Regions from separate parts of the Homo sapiens genome. Here regions 1, 2, 3, 4, 5 and 6 are each linked to region 7. Evidence: promoter capture Hi-C in 16 types of primary human blood cells and fetal thymus (Javierre and others, 2016). All regions are on one chromosome and are shown on one strand. The core of a region is centred on a gene start or on the middle of the fragment in contact, and the rest is flanking DNA. Distances in the headings are between cores, read along the strand shown. Region 1 holds the start of MITD1 (microtubule interacting and trafficking domain containing 1). Region 2 overlaps ZAP70 (zeta chain of T cell receptor associated protein kinase 70). Region 3 overlaps TMEM131 (transmembrane protein 131). Region 4 has its middle 37 kb from the start of ZAP70. Region 5 overlaps TSGA10 (testis specific 10). Region 6 overlaps TMEM131 (transmembrane protein 131). Region 7 holds the start of INPP4A (inositol polyphosphate-4-phosphatase type I A).

What was found. The method cuts DNA at HindIII sites, captures the fragments that hold promoters and counts their contacts. A CHiCAGO score of 5 or more calls a contact.
Region 1: a fragment that was not itself captured here is called in contact with the fragment with the promoter of INPP4A in region 7 in 2 of 17 cell types (naive CD4 T cells and naive CD8 T cells); the score reaches 6.9 in naive CD4 T cells.
Region 2: a fragment that was not itself captured here is called in contact with the fragment with the promoter of INPP4A in region 7 in 1 of 17 cell types (M1 macrophages); the score reaches 5.3 in M1 macrophages.
Region 3: a fragment that was not itself captured here is called in contact with the fragment with the promoter of INPP4A in region 7 in 1 of 17 cell types (M1 macrophages); the score reaches 5.9 in M1 macrophages.
Region 4: a contact is called between a fragment that was not itself captured here and the fragment with the promoter of INPP4A in region 7, in 1 of 17 cell types (monocytes). The highest score is 6.9, in monocytes.
Region 5: a fragment that was not itself captured here is called in contact with the fragment with the promoter of INPP4A in region 7 in 1 of 17 cell types (naive CD4 T cells); the score reaches 6.3 in naive CD4 T cells.
Region 6: a fragment that was not itself captured here is called in contact with the fragment with the promoter of INPP4A in region 7 in 1 of 17 cell types (naive CD8 T cells); the score reaches 6.0 in naive CD8 T cells.

The regions. Positions count from the first base shown.
Region 1 is chr2:99,178,713-99,182,016 of GRCh38, reverse strand. MITD1 (microtubule interacting and trafficking domain containing 1) reads left to right here and starts at 959. Exons shown (of 7, transcript NM_138798.3): 1 at 959-1,186. The coding sequence starts at 1,036. MRPL30 (mitochondrial ribosomal protein L30) reads right to left here and starts at 833. Exons shown (of 6, transcript NM_145212.4): 1 at 768-833. RefSeq lists a silencer at 452-624 and enhancers at 842-891, 912-1,141, 1,152-1,291. The HindIII fragment of the contact is 610 bases long and covers 1,455-2,064 here.
Region 2 is chr2:97,723,028-97,726,153 of GRCh38, reverse strand. It overlaps ZAP70 (zeta chain of T cell receptor associated protein kinase 70), which reads right to left. Exons shown (of 14, transcript NM_001079.4): 3 at 1,716-2,138; 4 at 902-1,062. The coding sequence starts at 2,117. Among named protein-coding and RNA genes, the nearest start is that of ZAP70, 11 kb to the right of the region's middle. RefSeq lists an enhancer at 1,291-1,881. The HindIII fragment of the contact is 4,563 bases long and covers 1-3,126 here.
Region 3 is chr2:97,768,288-97,771,619 of GRCh38, reverse strand. The region is part of intron 33 of TMEM131 (transmembrane protein 131); the gene reads left to right. Among named protein-coding and RNA genes, the nearest start is that of ZAP70, 56 kb to the right of the region's middle. RefSeq lists enhancers at 480-992, 993-1,506. The HindIII fragment of the contact is 528 bases long and covers 1,095-1,622 here.
Region 4 is chr2:97,749,308-97,752,494 of GRCh38, reverse strand. It overlaps a transcript of ZAP70 not described here. Among named protein-coding and RNA genes, the nearest start is that of ZAP70, 37 kb to the right of the region's middle. The HindIII fragment of the contact is 568 bases long and covers 1,116-1,683 here.
Region 5 is chr2:99,069,320-99,072,838 of GRCh38, reverse strand. It overlaps TSGA10 (testis specific 10), which reads left to right. Exons shown (of 21, transcript NM_025244.4): 14 at 965-1,133. Among named protein-coding and RNA genes, the nearest start is that of C2orf15, 71 kb to the left of the region's middle. The HindIII fragment of the contact is 887 bases long and covers 1,359-2,245 here.
Region 6 is chr2:97,805,147-97,808,245 of GRCh38, reverse strand. TMEM131 (transmembrane protein 131) reads left to right here. Exons shown (of 41, transcript NM_015348.2): 20 at 2,543-2,695; 21 at 2,795-2,870; 22 at 3,041-3,099. Among named protein-coding and RNA genes, the nearest start is that of ZAP70, 93 kb to the right of the region's middle. The HindIII fragment of the contact is 615 bases long and covers 1,015-1,629 here.
Region 7 is chr2:98,443,270-98,446,439 of GRCh38, reverse strand. It overlaps INPP4A (inositol polyphosphate-4-phosphatase type I A), which reads right to left and starts at 1,582. Exons shown (of 25, transcript NM_001134225.2): 1 at 1,355-1,582. RefSeq lists a silencer at 1,113-1,752. The HindIII fragment of the contact is 7,361 bases long and covers 1-3,170 here.

The DNA of each region.
Region 1 (3,304 bases), core at 510-3,009, 740 kb before region 7:
CGACCGATAGTTCTTTTGTCTTTTTACAATGAGCATGCATGCAACAGGAATGTTAAAAATCGATTTCTTTTTCTAAACCGACAATGTATACAATTATTAAAGGGGGAAAAACACTTCTGAAATGCAAAACATGGAATCACTCTTGCAGAGATACCAGAGATCTCTGAAAGCTGGAAGCGTGTCTCTTCTCTGAACTCCTAGTGCCTAACAAGCAGTAGGCAGCCCTCATTACTGCCTCTTGGCAAAAAGGGCAGAACAAACAGCTTTTGGTAGGTCTCGATCAAAATGGTAACAAATCACAGTTTTAATAAAATGGCAAATATTCTAACTGCCAACTCTTGGATGTTTGCATTATAAAATGAAGCAATACAAAGATAAAGGCAATTTTCTGTCTTCATTAAAAAAAAAAAAAAGCAACCTTAATACCCAGTGGCAACCCTAAGTTATGAATAAAGCAGCAGCACAGAAAATGCTGCTTGGGTTCCCTTTCCCAAGCTGTCCAGCCTCGGCGGCTCCGTTCTTGAGCTCCAAGAGTCTGGGCACAAAAAGCCGCGTGGCCCTGGATCCTGCAAATTGGGAAACGGGGGGATCCTGCAGGCCAATGGCCTTACGGGAGCCAATGTGACGGGATCAGGGGCAGACCCATTTAGGTTGCCGTAACCGGCCAATTCAGTACGCAATAGGGAAAATCAATTAGGATCTGCAGAGGGTTCCCGGATACACCTTGCGAAGAATGCCGCACTCTCCGCCACTCATTCCCCACTCACCGGCACCCGCTAAACCTTCAGCCTGAAATTTTCCTCCGAAGGGAAGCAGAGCAGAGGAAGAACTACCAAGTGCTACACTCAAAGCCTGCCGTCGCAGTGAGCGCGACCTCCAAACTGAGGCATTTTTGTTCCGGCGAAATCCCTCCCACTCAGGAAAGTCCCTAGAAAGAGAGCGCAGGCGCCTGGGTATCACATGACCACTTCCCGGAAGCGCAGCAGACCCGCTCAACTTCATCCTGGGTTGAGGCGGAGGAGAACTTCCAGAATTATGGCGAAGTCCGGGCTGAGGCAGGACCCGCAGAGCACAGCTGCAGCCACTGTGCTAAAGCGGGCAGTAGAACTAGATTCGGAGTCGCGGTATCCGCAGGCTCTGGTGTGTTACCAAGAGGGGATTGATCTGCTCCTGCAGGTTCTGAAAGGTGAGCAATGAGCCAAGGCGGGGAGGACCTGAGGAAAAGGAGCTGGTTCCTGCTGTGTCTGGGGTGAAGTGAAAGAGTTAAAAATGATTTTTCCACACCACGAAGAAGCAGTTAAATACAGAAGGTGGGATATTCTATAGGACAACTGGGCCGCTTTCTTTTAGATCTTTAATAGATTGATGTTACCTAGAAAAGGTGGGGAGGCTACTAGTCTAGATTTTAAAAGACTTAAGAGATATAAGATATAACGCAATGTAATATATAAGCTTTGATAGGACCTGGGTTTGTACGAACTTTAAAAGACATTTTTGGATCTATTAGAAAAGTTTGAATATAGATTGGGGGGCATTAAAATTATTTTCTTAGGCAATATGATTTTTTTTCCAAAACTTTCCTTAATTTTTAGAGATGCAGACCAAAGTGTTTTAGAAAGAGATGCTATGATGTCTTTAGTTAATTTTCCTTAAGCAAAAATTTCTTAAAAATCGAAGCTCTATTTGAGCAAAAATGCTAATTTTAAAAATTTCGGTGATGGGTAATAAGGGTGTTTATTATACGATTATTTTTAATTTTCTGTTTAAACATTTGCATTTAAAGCAAGCCAAAGTAAAATTATGTAGCGGTAGAAGAAGAAAAGTTTTTCTTAAACGGATGAGGTTCGGTGTGAGAAATGCGCAGGGTTGTGGAGGAGACAAGTGAGACTTTTCGTATTATTCAATGTTGAGAAATACCCAAATATTCCTTAACACCCAGCACAACCCTGGCTCACAGTAGACACTCAATATTTATGTATTAAATTGATAAGATCAGCTCCTGCTCCCCAACCCCCGACACTCCCGGTCTGGACTAAGCTCCCTCTGTTCTTTCTAGTTTAAGCTTCTTATAATTAAAGTGTTACAGAAGCTTTGGGGCAGCAGAGGGGAGCCCTTTATGGTTTGGTGCTTTGGTCAGAACTACAAACTCTACCGGCCGGGCGCGGTGGCTCACTCCTGTAATCCCAGCACTTTTTTGGGAGGCCGAGGCAGGTGGATCATGAGGTCAAGAGATCGAGACCATCCTGGCCAACATGGTGAAACCCCGTCTCTACTGAAAATACAAAAATTAGCCGGGCATGGTGGCACGCACCTGTAGTCCCAGCCACTTGGGAGGCTGAGGCAGGAGAATTGCTTGAATCCGGGAGGCGGAGGTTGCAGTGAGCCGAGATCGCGCCACTGCACTCCAGTCTGCCAATAGAACAAGACTCCGTCTCAAAAAAAAGAAAAAATAACTGTAAACTCTACCTTGCCTGGGGCATTATTTGATGATAATGATGACAGTGACAACAGCAATAAGCATAGATATCACGTTTCAGTGCTGAGTGCCAGGCATTGCAGAAAACATTAAAAGCATGATCTCGTTTCATCCGTACCAATTGCCCTATCAAGTAGGAGTTGATGGTATTCTCGTTTTACAGCATAAAAAGTATTGTTCGCTTTCAAGTTCTGCCACTAGGAGGTGGTAGAGTCACAGTCGGAGCCCAAGGCCCCAACGACTCTGGTATACTGAATCCCAAAAGAGAGATGGTGTACTGTGTTGGTCAGGTGGAACACTGCTCAAGTTTTGGCTGCACTAGGAATCTGAAGCAGGAGAATCACAGTTCTGCTCTAGGGTGCTTCACTGATCCCGTAGAGGTTACAGAGACAATGATGTCACATAGATGGGTTAAGACCAAAATGCAAATAGCGCTAATACAGGGAATAAGTGCCAGGAGAGAGATATCTATAGATAAACGCAATGAGGATTTAAACAGTTAAAGGTCATGTGAGGGTGGAAAGGTAGAGGTGGAGTTTGATTGGGGCTTTGGAGGAAAAATAATTTCAGAAGTCAGAAATTCATCTAAGAGTCTTCAAATTCCTGTGCTGTCTTACGAAATAAGTAGTTTGGTTGAGCATGTATCTGAAGAGGAAGAGTGAGAAGTAAAGTTTAAAGGTAGATAGGGGCTTGGATCACATTGAGGATGGCCTTGACTACCAGGAGATTTTAACTTATTCCACAGGCAAGGAGAAACCATTTAAGGTTTTTACAAAGGAGTAACATAATTGGAGTTGCATTTCAGGGCTTGTCTCTTTCAGGAATGTG
Region 2 (3,126 bases), core at 104-2,603, 720 kb after region 7:
CTAACATTTACCGCATTTTTCCTATGTCAGTTACCATACTCTCGATTCACACGTATTAATTCATGTAATCCTCATAGAGGATCCTGAGGGGAGGTACTGCTGTCAACCACAGGACAGTTAGAGGGGGCTGCTTCAACACTCTCCCGGGGATCCCACCTCACTTGGGGGAAAAGCTAAAGTCCCCGCCCTGCCCTCACCTCCTCCCATTCTCCCCCTCACTTACTCAGCTCCAGGCACATGGCCTCCACAATGTTTCTGGAACACGCCAAATAGACTCCTGCCTCCTGATCTTTGCACTTGCCATTGCATTTTCCAGGAACACCCTTCCCCCTGAAAGCTGCACAGCTCACTCCTCAGCTTCTTTCCCTTCCTCAGAAGTCACCTTCTCAGGAAGGCCTCTTCTGACCACCTAATCTAAAATTGCAACCGCCTCCCCACCTGCACACACGGCGCTTACCACCATCTGACAGGGTCTCTATTTTATTGATTCCTTTTCTTGTCTACCTGCCCCATGAGGACAGGCACTGTGTCTTTTTGGCTCACTGCCGTGTGCTCAGTGCCTGGTACACAGTAGGTATTCAGTAAATATTTGTTGATTGAAGGAGGGGAAACTGAGGCAGGCAACCACAGTCCGCTACTTGCCCAAGGGCCACAGCCAGCAGGTGGCGGAAGCGGGATTCCAAGCCAGGCCAAGGGACCGAGTCTGGAGGCTTTCCTAGTCACTACCTCTACTTCCCCATGTGCAAGTCCCTTTGCACATCAGAAACACACAACCCACTTGCACATGTGAGCACAGGGACACCCTTACGGCCCAACTGCACACTCACGTCTGCCCCAGTCCCCAGGATCCCTGCCAACGAGCCCCAATCCTCACCGCACCCAAATCCCGGGCCCCACATACAGGAACTTGCCGTCGGTCTGCGCCCCAGAGTAAAGTTTGCGCTCGGCCTCCTCACGCGTCAGGCTGCTGTGGTACCAGGGCATCCGCTCGTGGGCCGTCGTAGCAATGAGCTTCTCCACCTGCGGGGCCTGGCTGATGATGGCCTGCTCCAGGGCCTCGCCCTAGAAAAGGAGAGGCGAGGAGGTCTGTAGGTGTGGCCAAGTGCTCGCCACAGGAACCCCCTTCCGGGAGCCCTGTCCCAGAGGACTCCCCACCCCACCCAGGCGTCCCTAGCGCGTGTTAGGCAGGTTTTCGAGGACTACCTCCGCGCCATCTCCGTGGTCCCCTCCCCAATCCAGCTAGGGAGGAACCACCCCCACCTTCCAGCGCGGCCCCAAGCGCATCTCCAGCTTGAAGACCTAATTCAGGTAGTTGTGCATGGTGGTGTCACTCAGGCTGTGGACGACTACTGCCCATCTTCCCCAACAGCCACCCTACCCTAAGGGCTCACCCTAGCCCCGCGCACCCTCCTCTCAGCCCCGCCCCCATTCCAAGCCTCGCCTTCGCCCGGCCCAGTGCGTCCCTCTACCTTCCCATCTGGCATAGTAGAGCACCATAGCATCGCTCAGCCTGCGGAAGGCGACCGCCACCACGGAGCCCCTGCCTCTGAGGCCTCCTTTCAGGTTCTTCCCCAACCAGTGCCCCACCTCTCCAGCTTCCAAAGGGGACTGAATGGGGAAGACGACCTTTTCCTCCCTCCTATCCCCCCAAAACCCTCGACTGCCCCTCTTCGGCCACGCCCCTCCAGACCCCGCGCCCCAGGCTGCGCTCTCACCTCCAGCTTCCACGTCTGGCGCACGTAGTCACGCACCATGGCGTCTCGCAGGCAGTCGAAGACCCCCGGCTGCGGCTCGAGGCCCGACGGCCGGTTGCACGGCTTGCGCAGGTTGCAGGGCAGCCCGTCGGGGTCGCGCGAGTAGAACTCGCAGAGCTCTGCCGGTCCACAGTGCGCTTTGCCGCCGGCAATGGCGTAGGTGCCGTTGAGCTGGCGCTCGATGGGAAAGTGGTGGAAGCGCACATCGTGCACGAGCGACAGCACATAGCCGCCCAGCGAGCGCAGGCACTGGCGCAGCAGGAAGAGCCCGTCCGCCATGCCCGCCAGCTTCAGGTGCTCCTCGGCCTCGGCACGCGAGATGCTGCCGTAGAAGAAGGGCAGGTGCGCCGCGGGGTCTGGCATCGCCCCTGGGCCTCCCGAAACCTGCGGGTTCACAGAGGGTCGGAGGCACGTCAGGGCCTTCCTGAACCTGGTGCGTTGGGCCCAAAGACGGCGCGAGAGACGCCAAGTGGAGGGCATCAGTGCCGCAGACTGAGCTCGCCAAGGGGGCAGAGCCTGCTCTGTGCCAGAGTCAACCTGGAGAGAAGCCGCAGCCTGCTGGGCACAGATCGAGAAGTCCCAAACCCCCATCTGACTTTCCAGAGACATTATGTGGACGCCCAAGCACGCCAACTGGTCCCCAAGCACCCACACCTGTACCCATCTCTTCATGTCCCAACCACGTGCTGAATTATTGTGTTTCAGGCCCGGTGCTGGGGATATGCACGCTTGAGGCAGGCGCGGTCCCACCCCGTCCTCCCGAAGGCAACACTCTAAGGAGGGAGAGCCGTGAGATAAACTGAGAAAGAAACAAAAATAATAATTACAGATTGAGGTCAGCATTACAAAGGAAATAAGTGGAGTGACATTAAGAGAGAGAAGAGGTGGCTCTAGCTAGGATGGTCACCTTCTCCAAGGAGCTAGCATTTGAAGGGAGAGCTGAAGGAGGAGGAGCCAACTTTTCAAAAAGCGCGCGGGACAGCGCATCAGGCAGAGAGGACTGCATGCGCAGAGGCCCTGAGGCCGCACCCAGCTTTGCTCACCCAAGGGCCCTACCCCTCAGCCTCCCTTGTCCCTTCCGCTGACCCTTTCCCCTCGGCCTTAGCAGGCACCCCTCGCCCTGCCCTCTGCCTTCCTTGGCAAGTTTCTACAGAGCATACGCTAATTGGAATATCCATCCCTAGGGGACTGGTTAAATGCATTAGGGTTTAATCTCAAAGTGAACTCTGATACAGCTATTAAACAAAACGTGTGATTGAGGGGAGGAGGAATTAAGGCTATTTAGACAGATGGATATCTGGTAAGGCAGATAACTTAAAATTGCCTGCCCTCAACTTTCTGGGGTGATGGTGACGTCCTGTATATTCACAGG
Region 3 (3,332 bases), core at 109-2,608, 670 kb after region 7:
TACCTTTCCTGGTTCATTGTATAGAACTGTCATCAGCACGGGAGCTGCTGTCTACCCGCTTGTGGGTTGTGATCAGTAGAAAGTGACAGAGGAAGTCGAATAAATTAGGTGTAAATTTAAAAGGAAGACATGGCTTGTCTGTCATCATAAGTGTGGGCCATAGATTTGTGGAAGGTCTATTCTTACTCTGATCCTGGGAATCATACTTGAGTTTTGCAAAAACACCACTAACCTAGACTCTGTCCCTAGATTATATGGCTTCAGGCAGGGCCAGTCCTGTTCTATAGAACCCAAAAGCTAGTAAGAAATTAGTGATAACTGCAGTAAAATTTAACCTTGTCCCTGAATTTATGAAATAATACAGTATATGGTGGTGCTTAGTAATGAAGTATTTGTACCTAAAATTTACTCTTTTGTGGCAATTGTTAGTTCAAGTGACCAGGTCCCACAATTTGTTGAGAGCAGTCTGGCCCAGGTAGAAGGAACGTCAAGCAGAGTGGTATCAGGTGGTTGATCATTTGAAGGGGAGAGAGAAAAGGAGACCACCTCTTCTGAAGAGGAGGTTCACATACTTGGATCTCTCCTGAGAGAAATCCACCTGAGACACCAATATCCTGGCACCCAGGACAGGAATAACACTGGGCTACTAGCTAGAGATTCTTCTTCTTGGCCTTTTTCAGGCTTAGGTGAGTGATCAGATATTTTAAAGTAAATGAGGCTAATAAGTCCAAATAATGAAAATCCTCATTTTTACATTTGCAGAAATCTTGTGAGGTAGACAGACATGCAGTAATTCCTATGATGATAAATTTTAAAACCAGTGCATCTAAGAATTATCTTAGAGGTACCATTCCATAGGTGACTGTCACCAAATTGGCCCTGTTGATTAGCCCTCAGGCCTGAGCTTAGTATTGTTAAGCAGATAGAACACACTAATCCTAACCCCCATCCCTGTTCCACTGACTTACATTGTATTCTGATTTTTTTTACAAGTTGACCATCAGCAAATTTGCATTTGAAAAGTTAGTCAAAGACGTCGCTTGAGTGTCATTACCTTTGCAAGGGTTTTTAGTTCTCTTGTAAACCAAAAAGCTTAGAGTGGTCAGTCCTGAACCGCCTAGTCAAGGGGCAGTTATAGCAATAACCGGTGCTCTCTCAATATGTAGTTAAAAGATAAATCATTACCAGAACACAAATCAAGCCGTGTGCTTGAAACTGTCTTTTGTAACTGGAGAAATCTATATGCAACCTTTCTTCTATCCTCCTTTATCTGATCTCTTTAAACTCACTGATCTCTTGTTTTTCTGAACTCGAGGATGAAAGTATTGAGTCAGAATTTATTAGTTCATCAATCATTTAATCAAATAAAGACTGGTTTTTTTAATAACCGGAGAAGGTTGGCTTTCTGAACAGAGCCATTCTGTGACTCCACTGCATTCTGATAATAAATGTCAAACACTGTCACTCAGAATCACAGCCAGTACTAGCTTTAGTGATTCCTGAAATTCCTGTCACCTTTTAGTGTGTTAATATATAACCCCACATGTCTGAAGGACAGGTACACATCTTTTAATAAGATATGTCATTAATAAGGCATATATCATTGCTGTCTTTCGGAAGCTTTGTGAGAGGTGATAAAGCCAGAGGAGTGGCTCAGCCCCATCCATCCACACTCCCAAGAGTTGACCTCAAAAAAATCACTTGCTAGGAAATAGGAGGGTGGGGCTGCAGCAACAGAAATCTGATCTAACCGTGTTTTCCAGCTGTGGCAACATAGAAATGGGCCTGCAGACCTCCGGAAAACTGTAGTCTATGGCAGAGATGCCAAGGAATGGGAATCAGATCTCAGGCACTGAAGGTTTCTGCAGAACCAGGAAGGGCCCAGGGCATCCCTGGTTTAGGACCCTGAGTATTCACTGATCCTTTTGTTTTTCTATTTGTTTATCAACAGTATATGTTTACATAAATGTAATAATCTAAAATAAGCAAAAGAAGTAGATTAATCATATTATCTGTAAAAATCTGCTTAAATAACACTCTCAACTCAGGCCCAAGGGCTGTGAACACCACACTGCACACGCCAGCCCCAGACCTGTCAGCACTCAGAAAACCCTGCTCCACAGCTGGTCATGTCCCTAGCTGTGTCCTCAGCTCTGCCTCTCTCCTCCCCAGACAGAAATGTGTACTGTGTATTACAGGAATAAAAATAGGCCAGGCTTGAGTCAGGTGTAACGTTGTGAAAAGCAAAAATAAAAAGAATACGAAATCTCAGAATATTAAGAAAAAGAAAAACATTATTATTAAAAAATGGAGGAAAATATATTATAAAAATAAGCCAGGTGTGGTAGCTCACATCTATAATCCCAGCACTTTGGGAGGTCAAGGCAGGAGGATTGCTTGAGCCCAGGAGTTCAAGATCAGCCTGGAAAATATAGCAAGACCTTATCTTACAAAAAGTTTTTCTTTTAAATTAGCCAGGTGTGATGGCACACACCTGTAGTCCCAACTACTAGGGAGGCTGAGGCAGGAGTTAGAGACTGCATAGAGCCCAGGAGTTAGAGACTCAGGAGTTGAGCCCAGGAGTTAGAGACTGCAGAGAGCCGTGATTGCACCACTGCACTCTAGCCTGAGCAACAGACTGAGACCCTGTCAGTAAATAAATAAATAAAGCCTGGCATCTGAACCACCTGTTTTTCCTTTTTAAAAAGAATCACTTCAGTCTGGGCACGGTGGCTCACACCTGTAATCCCACTGTAATCCCAGCACTTTGGGAGGCCAAGGACGGCAGATCACCGGAGGTCAGGACTTCGAGACCAGCCTCACCAACATCGTGAAACCCCATCTCTGTTAAAAATACAAAAATTAACCAAGCATGGTGGCACACACCTGTAATCCCAGCTACTCAGGAGGCTGAGGCAGGAGAATTGCTTGAGCCTGGGAGGCAGAGGTTACAGTGAGCCAAGATCGTGCCACTGCACTCCAGCCTGGGTGACAGAGTGAGACTCTGTCTCAAAAAAATGAATCGCTTCAATTAAGTTGGCCGTTACCCATTTTATTCAGAAGCCTTAAAAAAGGATTCTTGATAGAGATCATCTGGCTTAATTTAGGAAAGTATGAATCAGCAAAAATAACAGGAGTTGTCTGGCACCTTTCTTCTTAAAAACCAATTACTTTTACAGTGGCACAGAATTTAGTTTTGTATAAATAGCTACCCACGCACACTTAAAAATAGATCACACCCACACCACCTCCACCACCAGAGGGCTGGTGTCTACTATGGGAGCCTTTGGGGTTTTTTTAGAAGATGGGTTTTTTAAATAACCCTGTCAGTC
Region 4 (3,187 bases), core at 150-2,649, 690 kb after region 7:
GTCAGAACAAGCCCCTGGTTTGAAAAAAGAAAATGGGGAAAGTTCTGATGCCTTTTACATCTTAGGAGGGCCAGCTGATGTCATGAAAAAAGGTGATAGTGGAATCTAACAAAAATTCTTCATGATGTTACCCATAATTAGATAGCTGTAAAAATAAATTGGCAACAATATTAATTAAGCCAGGTAATTTTAGAGGTATTGCCAATAATGGTTACAAAACATCCCCCTGTGAATGAAATCCTGATAAAACATTTAAATGTAGACGTGAGCAGGAACTGGAGAGCTTGAAGGCCCTTCAGACCCCTCCAAGTAGACTCCATACAAATGCCTTCTGCCGTGGATTATAAATACATTCTGGTTATTGTTTGTTTATATTCACTGTGGATTGAAAATTTCCCTGCCAGAGTGACAAAAAGTGCTTGATTTTGTTTTCCAACCTGGAAAATCCCCACTTACTTCTAATGACAGAGATACTCCTTTTTCCAGACCAATGCTGTGGTTTGTTTGGCCCTGCTGAGTCTCTTGTTGAAATATGATCCCCAGTGTGGAAGGTGGGGCTTGGTGGAGGGGATGGAGCCCTCGTGAATGGCTTGGTGCCATTCTCATGGGACTAAGTGCTCACCCTTAGTGCCCACAAGAACTAGTTGTTGAAAAGAGCTTGGCACCTTCCCCCACCTCCCTCTTCCTCCCTTTCTCACCGTGTGGTCTGCACGGGGCTCTCCTTCACCTCCACCAGGAGTGCACCCAGCCCAAGGCCCTCAGCAGAAGCCAATGCTGCTGCCTCTACAGCCTGCAGAACCCTGAGCCAAATAAACCTCTTCACACATTACTCAGCCTCAGGTGTTCCTTTACAGCAACACAAAGGGACTAAGACATACTGTTATTAAGAAACACTGAAGTTGTGCCTTTAATCCAGAGATTTCACTGTCCTTGTTTTCTCCAGTCCTCTAGAAAAACAGAACTAATGGAATTTTTTTAAAAATAGCATACCTCTCAGAAACCTCCAAAATTCTACATCTTAAGAAATTACCATTAGCATTATACGATCAACCACCTCTAGGTCCCATGTTGCTTCTTATGAATTCATAACATGCCACTGTATACAGTTTGAAGCTTCATCCCATCTTAGATTCTACATGATTACATTTTATTTCCAGCTTTATCTCAACATAAATATGAACTATACAGTATATCCAAAACACACCCGCCTCTACGTGATCTACAGCTTCTGTACAAAAGGCACACAAAGACACGAAATTTATTGCTATTATAATAATATGCTCCCCATACGATCTGTGCTTCAGTGGGACACTACATCTTATTAGCCCATGTCAGGCTTATATTGGTCTGCCACACACTCATGTATATTCAGAGTGGTTAGATATGTTCAGATATTTACAACACCCACGTCTCCAGTAATCCATTCTTTGAAAGAATACCCAGCAATCCAGCGTAAAATTATCATAGATGATTCCAAAACCTTCCAGTAGCGATCCTTGATTTGCTCTTCATGCATACTCTGCAAACTCCAGTTCCCACCAAAGGAATAAAACGACTAGAGAGAGAGTTCAAAACTAGTTGGTAATTTTAGCTGAAGCCATAAACGAGACCACTCTGCTCTGAAAGTCCAACCGACTAATCTAAGTCCATTCTTTAGAGTTATCAAGGACAGTCATATAAGCTTTATTTTCCTCTTAGCCAGCAAAGGGACAGGTCATGCCATAACAAATACTCCTTTTTTATACCTAGAAAAACACCACAGGGGAACAGGACAGTTTGTGACTATTAGAAAAAGCCTTGACCTCTAAAGCCAACCCAGCTGGCTTCTGGAACATGCGCCCATTACCTGGAGGCGCTCTAGGCCCTTGTCTTGCAGACCTGTTACGAGGACTAACAGTCCTTGCGTTTCTCGTAATTACCTGTAAATGGTTGGCTAGTATCTCCTGTCTAGAGTTTTAGATGGTACTGCACACCATTTCTTTCATCATGCGATTCAACAACTCGCTTTACAACAGACAGGAAAAAACTGTTAACTCTGGTGTAACTATAGACTGCGTTCATTAGACACTCTTGAGCCAGCCTCCACTCCAGAGCAAACCCCTGACTCCATAGACCCACCCCCCAAATAAGCTAATAACCAAGGCCCACATCCTACAATTGCTACTTCCTGACACCCTCTTAGGAGACACCCCAGCTCACTGTTGTTTGGGTCCCCCTTGCTGCAGGGAGCAACAAGCCCAGCTGCTTTAACTGCGGTGCGTTGCTGCTGCACTGCGGGGAAGGGCGTTGACCATTTGGGTGTACACATGAGTGCAGTGGCATGGATGAGTGTGGCCTGGGTTCCAGTCCTGGCTCTGCCATTTACTGATCATGGCCCTTGGGCACACTCTGCCCCTCTCAGAGCCTCAGTTTCCCTATATGCAAAACAAACATCCTCAGGAGGATGGTGTGAAACATGAGGCCAAATAAATAAGTGGTAGCACTTCCTATTGTCTGTTACTGTGGTATTCCAAAGACATTTCCCAGTGTTAAACCCCTAGAAATGGCAACTTCCTGATGGGGATGGAACTCATTTGGCAGGGGGCATGAGGCCACCAATCTGGAGCCTCCTGAGCTCCTTGCCACTGCCTGGGGCCCCTCCTCCCACGCCCTCATCCCTCCCACCCTCACCACTGGGTCCACCGCCAGCCTGGGCTCCCGTTTGCCTCAGCCCCGCCTCTCAGCAGAACTGCGGCAGCATGTCCAGGGACAAGGTTCTTAGAGGGACTGGATTTGGACCATTCCTCCCAGCCAGATATTTTGCAGCAGGGAGAGGAGGCTGCATCAGATTCCTATGCCCACAAAGCACCACCTCCTTTTCCAGTTAAGGCAATGTGGGGCTGCAAATTTTCATGCATTCAGGATCCTTCTGTAACTTAATTCCTTTGCCGTCAGTCCCCTCCCGCTTCTGCAGAATGCATGCTCCTAGCAACTCTCACAGACCTGACCCCTGACAGTCATTGCCCACCCGGAACTCCAAAGCCAGCAGGGCTTGCTGCTGCCTAGAAAGACCTATTGCCATCATTCCCTTGTCCCTGCTCTATAAACGTCCTTTTGGGAAAAGCACTCCCATCTCCCTCCTTTCCCACACAGACAGCGCACTATGCGTGCTATTAGTCTGTGCCTTTTGTAAAAATAGGAAGTGTCA
Region 5 (3,519 bases), core at 553-3,052, 630 kb before region 7:
TAAGGGGAAGGGAAGGGCATTTAAAGTAGAAAGAATAGCAAAGAACCACAGATCATGTTGACAAGCCTCTTGACCTACAAGTGGGTGAGTGTTGTTGAAACCTAGAGTGTAAGGGGAGAAGTGAAGGGAGGAGACTAAATAGGCAGGCAGAGGCTTGTGTAACAGACAAATGAGTATTGGTTATATCCTTTGGGCAATAAGAAATCATTAAAGAATTCTGAGGAGAATTTTGTGTTAGAAAGATACCTAAGCAGAAGAGGTGGTGATAAATTGGGGTTTAGGAGTTGTGGGACAGAAGGAGTGAAATGCTTTTGTATGAGGGAGAGACACCAGGAAAATGCCAAGTTTCTGGCCAGGGACAAATACTGAACATGAAGAAAGTATGAGGAGAAAAAATGATTTTACCTCTGAATTTGAAGAACCTTTGGGACCTTATTGTAGACATGTCTAGTAAGCAGTTAAATATAAGTCTGGAGTATAACAGAGGGTCTAAAACTGGAGATAATTATTTTGGAGTCATTGGATCTAGATGGGGTTGGGAACCATGGATATGAATAGAGTTTGTCTGAGAGAAGGGTTAGAGTGAGAATAATTGGGAGGCTAGGGCTTGAGCCCTGAAAAGCATTAATTTTTAAGTGGGCAGAGGAAGAGGAATCTGTAAAGGAGACTAAGCCATAACAGAAGTAGGATGAAAGCCTTCCTAATACTTGATGTAAGAAGTTTTGAAATATTTGGCAAATCATTGACTATTATGTATACTTTGTATCCTTTTCATAGCGAAATGATGGCAACATTGAGAAACTCTAATGCACTGTCTTTGCAGTATTTATTCCTATAAATTCAAACGTGTTTAAAATCTCTTCAAATGTTTTCATACTAACTGTCCATCTTCTGTCTTGTGAGAATTTGTTGCTCTGTTTCAGTAAAATGTCTCTTCTTATGTACTCTTTGATTTGTGGAATAGACAGTGTACTGAGGCCCTAATTGTGTGTGAACAAGACGTTTCCAGAATGCGTCGGCAATTGGATGAGACAAATGATGAGCTGGCCCAGATCGCCAGGGAAAGAGATATCTTGGCTCATGACAATGACAATCTCCAGGAACAGTTTGCTAAAGCTAAACAAGAAAACCAGGTACACTTGTTCCTAGAATCATTTTCTCCAAGAAAAAAAAATATGAATTTCTTGTGAGGAACAGCCCTCATTTTATTTTATAGAAGAGCTCAGACACTGGAACTAGCCTTTTCTTTTTTTTAAAAAATAACAAAATAGGCCACATAATTTTTAAATGGAATTCTCAGACACAAAGGGTTAAATATTAAAGAAAAGAGAGAACAGGGCTATATTTGTATTAAAGCTTAGTACTTCCTTGCTGAAGGATAAATATTTGAATAATCAAAAAATGAGAATAAAAACCTTGAGAAACCTTAAAGAAAAGAATAGGTGTTTTTTTTTTAAAAAAATGGACTACATATTATTCTGTTTTAAGTATGAATGTATGGACTGTGCCTTGTTTTTTGGTTCTCATTAGCACTGTGATTCTTTTTAGGAAAGTTCCTCTTATAATTACTCTTTCTCCCTAAGGCAATATATTTAAGTCTAATCTGCAGTTCTCATTTCCAATAACATTTATTTTAACGTGAACATTTAAAAATCCTATTTGGAAAATTTCTTCCCTTCTCAAAATTTTTAAGACCAAATGGTTTTCCCCACTTTGTATCACTTTCAGTGTGTTTAGTTTGCATCCTGAAAGTCTGTGTTCTTTAACTGTTGAAGATTATTAATTTACTTAAACAGCTATAAAGCTGTAATACTTTGTTAATCATAAAAAATTATCTGAGATGTTAAAGTATTTTGTTTAAAAGTAAATGAATAATGGGATCCTGGAATAGAAAAAGGACATTATGTAAAAAAGGAAAGAAATCTGAATAAAGTATGGACTTCAGATAATAATGTGTCAATATTGGCTTATTAATTGTGACATATGCACCATACTAATGTAAAATGTTAACAATAGAGGTGCCCTTTATAATGTCTTCACAACTTTTCTGTAAATCTAAAACTATTCTAAAAGTTTATTTAAAAAATTAATGAATAGCAATAAAAACCAAAACATGGGAATTTGTAAGGTTTGCCTTTGTGTACTCTTTACAGCTAGAGCATATGGGCTAAAGGTGGATATATCTTATTTATGAAAACCTAGAAATTTAGTTTCTATTTTTTTGATTGGTTTAGAAATAGAAGCTTATTATAGAAAGTCTTTTTTCTAAACAAAAAGTTAAGAGTTTAGAAAAGCCCCCATGTTTTTGATACTCAGTTACTGTTATATTTGACATATTTTTTTAATTGCTATACAGTGCACTTAAAAATTTTAACACTATTTTTATACACATTTTCTAATGTAGTGGGATAAAATCACCTATCACTTTAGATCATGCTTTTTTCTACATGAAGAGGCAGTAGAGTCGAGTAAGATTCACATGGGTTGAATCTTGCTCTCTGCGTGTGTGATCATATAAACCAACTTCTCTGAGTCTCTGTAGCATCTGTAAAAATGGTTAATAAGTGAGACTATACCTGGAAAGCACTTACTGTACTGTCCAGTATATCACTCAATAAATATTTTATAGCTATTATTAGCTTACTATAATATTGTAAGCATTTTCCTGCCTTGTTCAAACTTTGTAAACATTTTTTATAATCAGAAGAAAACTGTTGTCATAACAATTTACATATGCTCAAAAGTAGTTTTTTCTTCGTTATGGTCATAGGCCCAAGGTAGAAGAGAGGTCTCTCTCTGTGGACCACAGGTTAAGAACCAGTATTGCAGAAGACGAGAAAGTGGAAACTTAAAAAAAATTTATCCTTGATACCACAATTTTTAACAAATTGGGATAATGAGGTATTTTTGTGTTTTAGCACGATTTTTTTTTCACTTAACATAGGCAAATATTTCCCTGTATTATTAAAAATCATTCCAAACATTTCTCACAGGTATGTAATATTCCATTATGTGGTTATGCCACTATGTAGATATACTATTATTTACTGCATGATTCACTTAATGTGAATAAATATTGTCACTGTAACAAATGCCTTAATGACAGCATCTCATTAAATTTTATTAGATTTCATTTCAGAGTGAATCACAGATTATCAGGTTTCTTTTTAATTATTATTTATTTATTTATTTATTTATTTATTGTAGAGTTGGGTTCCCACTATGTTGTTCAGGCTGGTCTCAAACTCTTAGGCTCAAGTGATCCTCCCAAAGTGCCAGGATTACAGGAAAAACACCCAGCTGAGGTTTCTTTTTTAAATTAAAAAAATGTAAATAGACATTTTCAAATATAATGAATCCCCATGTGCCATTTCCCACCTTCAAAAATAATCAACATTTTTGTCTTTCTTGTTTTTATGAGCATTTAAAAATTGTCTCTTGATACATCACCAGATTCCTGATCACAGATTTGCTTTCTGCAAATCTACATTTACTCCAGTAGTACATGGAAATGCCCAT
Region 6 (3,099 bases), core at 73-2,572, 640 kb after region 7:
AAACATTTTGAGACCACAAGTGGAAAATTCTACACCTGACCTCTTGTAACAGGTTCCAGTCAAAACTTTGCTTCATGCACAAAATTATTTTAAATGTTGTATAAAATTACCTTCAGGCTATGCATATAAATGTATATGAAACATAAATGAATTTCATGTTTAGACTTGGGTTCTGTCCCCAAGATATCTCATTATATATATGTAAATATTCCAAAAAAAAAATCTAAAACACTTCTGGCCCCAAGCATTTTAAATAAGGGATACTCAACCCTTACAGTAAAACCTGAATTCAATATTTAACTCCTTAAAAATACAAACTTTGAATTACTAGTTTCATCACATTTAAGTTTGGGTCTTAATTAAATCCTCATCTTCCTGTCATTCCACTTTGTACTGACTATACTAAACTCTTCGTTATTTATCCAAAAGAGCCATGTTTCTTCCTTCCATTACCTTCTCAATCAATGATGTCCTTAATCTCTGCGTAAACTCTGGCAGGGAAAAGTTCAGTTCAGAAGACAGCAGATGACACAGTGAAAAGCCCCATGAGTGGAATAAATGAGAAAGCATGTGTATAAAAACAAGATGTTGGTCTGGATCCATTTGTGTTGCTATAAAGGAATCCCTGAGGCTGGGTGATTTATTTTTAAAAAAGAGGTGTATTTGGTTCACAGTTCTGGAGACTGTGCAGGAAGCATGGCCCCAGTGTCTGCATTGGTGAGGGCCTTAGGCTGCTTCCACTCATATTGGAAGGCAAAGAGGAGCTGGCATGTGCAAAGATCACATGGCAAGAGAGAAGAGAGGGAGGTGCCAGGCTCTTTTTTAACAACCAGTGGTTGTGTGAACTAATGGCATGAGAACTCATTACTACGAGGTCAGAACGCACCAAGCCATTCATGAGGGATCCACCCCTGTGGCCCAGACACCTTCCATAGGGCCCCACCTCCAACACTGGGGATCACATTTCAGCATGAGATTTAGAGGGGTTGGTTTTGAACTGCTTCAGATTAAGCTTTCAGATATCTCTAGGAGGCTTACAGGACCAGATACTTGCTTGGAATTCTAAATTACCTCTATATTACCAAATCCTGTCAATCTCTTTATCAGATGGAGAATACTAGAGCTTACTGGAAACAATACCTCAGAATAAACATTTCATGTAACTCATAGCTTAATATTTGAATAGAATTGTGAGAGCAGCATTTATATCTGTGAGCTCTTTTGATCCCCCACACCCCCAAGAGACAAGGCACGAGGGAAGTAGTTATTTCAAGTACGCCAAGTGCGGTGACTGCCCGAGGGCTCCTGTCGGCATTGCAGCTGCATGCCCGCCCTCTGCTGGCTGTCGGGTGTTTTAGCCTCACTGGGCTGTAAATGAGGAGCGCTGGCCTCAGTGTCACAGTCATTGCGCCCTTTTTCCTGTGCACGCTCTTCACTTCTGTATTTTTTATTCCAAATATTTAAAAAGTGGGTTTAATCATTTCAGAGACCTCTTCAAATGAGTAGGAATCTACAAAAAGTAAAATTTTGTATTCAGCCAAAAGAAAGATTGTAATATTCTTCTGGAGGATTACGTAAATTATTTAATTTTTTAATTTAAAATTTGGTACCCTGTCACAGACAGAAGCTTGTGACTGGTAAGAGCAATTGCTGGTTATTTAACAGTTTTATTTGTGTGCTGGGGTTTTTGTTTGTTTGTTTGTTTGAGATGGAGTCTCACTCTGTCACCCAGGCTGGAGTGCCGTGGTACGATCTCGGCTCACTGCAGCCTCCGCTTCCCGAGTTCAAGTGATTCTCCTGCCTCAGCCTCCCCAGTAGCTGGGACTACAGGTGTGTGCCACCATGCCTGCTAATTTTTCGTGTGTATTTTTAGCAGGAACAGGGTTTCACCATGTTGGCCTGGCTGGTCTCGAACTCCTGGCCTCAAGTGATCCACCCACCTTAGCCTCCCAAAGTGCTGGGATTACAGGCATGAGCCACTGTGCCCAGCTTGTGTACTGTTTTAATAAGATACTTGACAACCCATAATTTCAAAAGATGTGTAATTTCTCTTTGATACAAATGACATATATTTTTCCTAATGAAGAGACTTTCTTTTAAAAAAAATTGTGATTTTGTCCCCTTTGGCTTTAGATTTTAGAATTCAGTGATTTCAGGGCATTCTTGCCTGGGTGTAAACAAACCTTGCTTACCAAACTGAAAGTAACCATTCCCTTTATCTAAAGCTATCTCTGTTTGTACCTTTGTTGGCATCCTCAGTATCTTAACATGAAAGTGTGAATGTTAACGTCAATCAGTTGTCACAAGATTGCAAAGATTTGTCCTCCTGATTTTTCTGTAACATGCCACAGCAAGAAAAAAAAGTTTTTTGGTGAGGTTTTTTGGCTGTTGATTACAATTTAAAGATTATCAATTGATGAACATTCTAAGATGTCTTTTGGGCTTTGGTTTCCTAGAAGTATGCTTGTCTACTCTGAAACTTGTGATCTTAAGAAAATTTAACCATATACAAATGAGTTTGTTCTTTGCTTTCTTCCTTCAGGGGAAAATAGTTCATCAAAGTTTAAATATTATGAATTCCTTCTCACAGAAGGTAAAAATACAGCAAATACGATCTTTGTCAGAAGATGTGCGATTTTACTATAAACGATTACGGGGCAATAAGGAAGACTTGGAGCCAGGAAAAAAATCAAAGGTTTGAAGATATTATATTTGAGAATTCCCATTGGTTAACATTTTGTTTTATGACCTCCTGTGGATTTGGGATTCATGGTTCTCCTGTGCCTCTTTATAGATTGCAAACATTTATTTTGATCCTGGACTACAGTGTGGGGATCATTGCTATGTTGGCTTGCCTTTTCTATCCAAATGTAAGTGACCTTGCTGTTCTCTCTCATGTCTTCACTTCCCCCAAAATACTCTTTTAGTAAGAGGCCGCCACTTTTAAAGTACATTGCTGTCTTTTGTTACTATAGAAATTATTTGAAGGAAAATTGACAAGTGAGTATAGATGCAGGTTAAGTATGTTTCCTTGTTTTAGCTGAACCCAAAGTGCAGCCTGGTGTAGCCATGCAGGAAGATATGTGGGATGCTGACTGG
Region 7 (3,170 bases), core at 333-2,832:
TCCTGCAACAGACCAACCACACTGCCCTTCTTACATGGGCCCCATCATTCATCTTTCTTCAAAGAAAACAGTACATTAGCAGTCGACACTTCAGCAAAGAACCCCCAAAACAAATGCCCTAGCCTAGATCCAAAAACAAAATTTCCGTTAAAGAAAGTGTGTTTTTCAACCAAAGAAAAATTAGGCTCAATTCTAGGACAACCTATAGCAAGCAATTCTACGTGCACTGGCCAACGCCAACAGCAGCTAGATTCCAAAACAAACTCAGCAAAAAAGGCTCTGCTCTCACCTTTTAGAGATAAGAACCAGAGTCAGCAAGCGGCAGAACCATGATTCACACCGAAGTCAACCCACTCTGTCCTCAACCCCACTGGCTTCCCCATGGTCCACACAACCCACTGTGAACAGATGGACCAGTCAGAATTTCTCTGCAACACCCAAATCGCCACCCCACCCCCATTCCCTTGGTTTAAATGCCCTGAGGGGCAGGCGACAAATCAAATTCCACTCTTAGGCAGGTTCCCAACACAAGACACATTCAGTGGCAAAGCAAAAGAGAAGATGGGCTCTACCACATATAGGTCTTTCTTACCCAGAGGAACATTTTCATGGTCTGTCATTACGGATGAACTCGGGGCAGGAAGAACCCATCATTATGTAATGTCAGAGGGCAGGCGACAGGGGAAGGGAAGCGAGACCATCAACATTCCCTTCCTTCGCCCACAAAGACACAAATTTACCTCTGACATTTTGAACGTCTGTCTTCTGGGGCCTACCCATTCCTGGCTGGCTTTTCAAGAGACAGCCACAGATCCCTGCACATTTCTCAGGCCTCAATTAATTGACTAGCAAAGCCAGAGAGAAATAAAATATAGAAAGCAAAGATGCTAGAAATGTTGTCGGGGTCTAAAGGCAGGCAGAAAATGGAAGAGTTTCGAGGATGGAGACCAGATTTCCCACACGGAGATGCATGTTTACTTTCACCCGGTTATGTTTCCACCCCAAACACGGCAAGGCCTCCAGCTTCAGGAGCCCGTAGACCCAGCCCTGGAGCCGCATCGGGCAGGCACCGCGTCTGCGTCCCGCGGCCACGCGCCCGCTCGGCACCCGGCTCCCTGCTGGGGCGGCCGCGTCTTCACGGGGCTGGGGGTCGGCCGGGCTCGGATTGTTCTCAAAAGACGCCACCGCAGGTGGACCACTGGCACCGTTAGGCAGTGCAATTTCCATGAAAACCGCGGGCGCCGTCCACATCCGCCCCAGCGGGGACCTGGACGCGCCCCCGCGCCCGCTGTCCGTCCCCGGCCCCGGCCCCCGCGGCGGCCGCGTCGCCTCCTGCCCGGCCCGGCCCACCTACCTGGCGCTCCCCGGCCCCCGGCGCCAGCCGCCCCGCTGTCCCGCCGGGCTGCGCGCCAGAGCCCCGCAGCAGCAGCAGCGCCGCCGCCTGGCTGTGAAGTCGCGGGCTGCGGGCCCGGCCTCAGGTGCTGGTCCTCCTGCCCCGGCCCACGGAGCCCGACCCGGCGGCAAACCAGCAGCGAACCCTCCACGCGCGCCGCAGCCCTAGCCAGCCGCCGCCGCTCTAGACGCCGGGCGCAGCCCCGCCCTGGCCCCGCCCCCTTGTCGCGCATGCGCGCTGAGGGCCCGGCCCGCGCCCTGCGACCCCCGCCCCACTACCAGCCCGAGCTGGGTCCGCCCTCTGAGACAGTAGGGCCGGTGACCGAGCTGCTCGCGCCAATTCCTACTGCTAGGTTCCCACAAGATCCCACCCTATCCTGTGACTGCTTCACCTGCAAGGAGTTCTTGAACTTCTGGACTTGACTGAGCGATGGCATCTTCACCCTGTCATCCACTGAGGCATCTGAGGCCCTGACGGATCCCCAAGGGAAAGTTTCCTGGAGGAGCCGCGACCCGGGGATGCGCCCCCAACCTTTTGCCCTCCGGACAAGAGCACTTCCTGAAGTGCAGACGTACTCACTCCCCAGGAGATGTTTAGGAAACTGAACATTCCAACCAGACAAGCAAAAAATTAAAATCTTAATTCTTTGAAAATACAGACTTGCAAAAAAAAGAAAATTGCTAACCTCTAAGTGTATGTCCTTCCGGACCTGTTCTGGCCTGTGTGCATAAGTGTGCACTAACAGACTTGCAACAGCATCAGTCCTTACACTTTGCCCCAAGTTTCTATTTTTCCATAGACAAAAACAATAATCAGAAGTTTTGGAAGAAAATTTTCACTTTGACTTTAAAACAGCATTTCTCCTTGAGCAAGGGCAAATACTGGACTGAATGTATCCTTATCTTTGAGTCTTCACATTTTATCCGAAAAAAAAATTCTTAAAATGATTTTAATTCAATAAACCAGAATACTTCTCAGGCAGAGCATTTAAACATATAATTTGCTTCAAAAACAAAAGAGATTAACCAGTTAGGAATGGAAATTAAGAATTCTCTGAACTCATTTAGAATTATGTCTGATCCTCCTCATGTCACCAAAATACAGACAATAGTCTGGAATAAAAATAAACAAATATAAAACGAGTTTTTTGGGGAGCCTGAGGCAGGAGCATCGATTGAGCAGAGGAATTTGAGGCTGCAGTGTCAGCCTGGGAGACAGAGCAACACCCTGTATCTCTAAAAAAAAAAAAAAAAAAAAGAAAAGAAAAGAAAAGAAAAAAGAAAAAGAAAATGTCCTAGTTTTAAATTTTTATTTCTTTACTTTTTATTTTATTTCTCTTCTGAAAAGTAACTTAGTAATAAAACAGTTCCCTCTTATTATTTCTCCAGCTAAATGGAAAGAAATATTGACAGAACCTTGACTCCACAGTACAAAGTTAAAGCCAAGAAAATCAAATTTGTAGAAATGCAAAAATATTTTTGCATTTTTTTTAATTACTGTGACCAATTAGTTTGCTTGGAACAGCCCCAGTTTACATCTTTTTGCAGCAAAATTATTAATAGGGCCCTCTTTCACTCTCAAATGTATTCCTGTTCAAACAATAAATTTTATGGCCATGCTGTTTATTTATTTATTTTTGGGATGGAGTTTCGCTCTTTTTGCCTAGGCTGGAATGCAATGGCGCGATCTCGGCTCACCGCAACCTCTGCCTCCCAGGTTCAAGCAATTCTCCTGCCTCAGCCTCCCAAGTAGCTGGGATTACAGGCATGTGCCACCA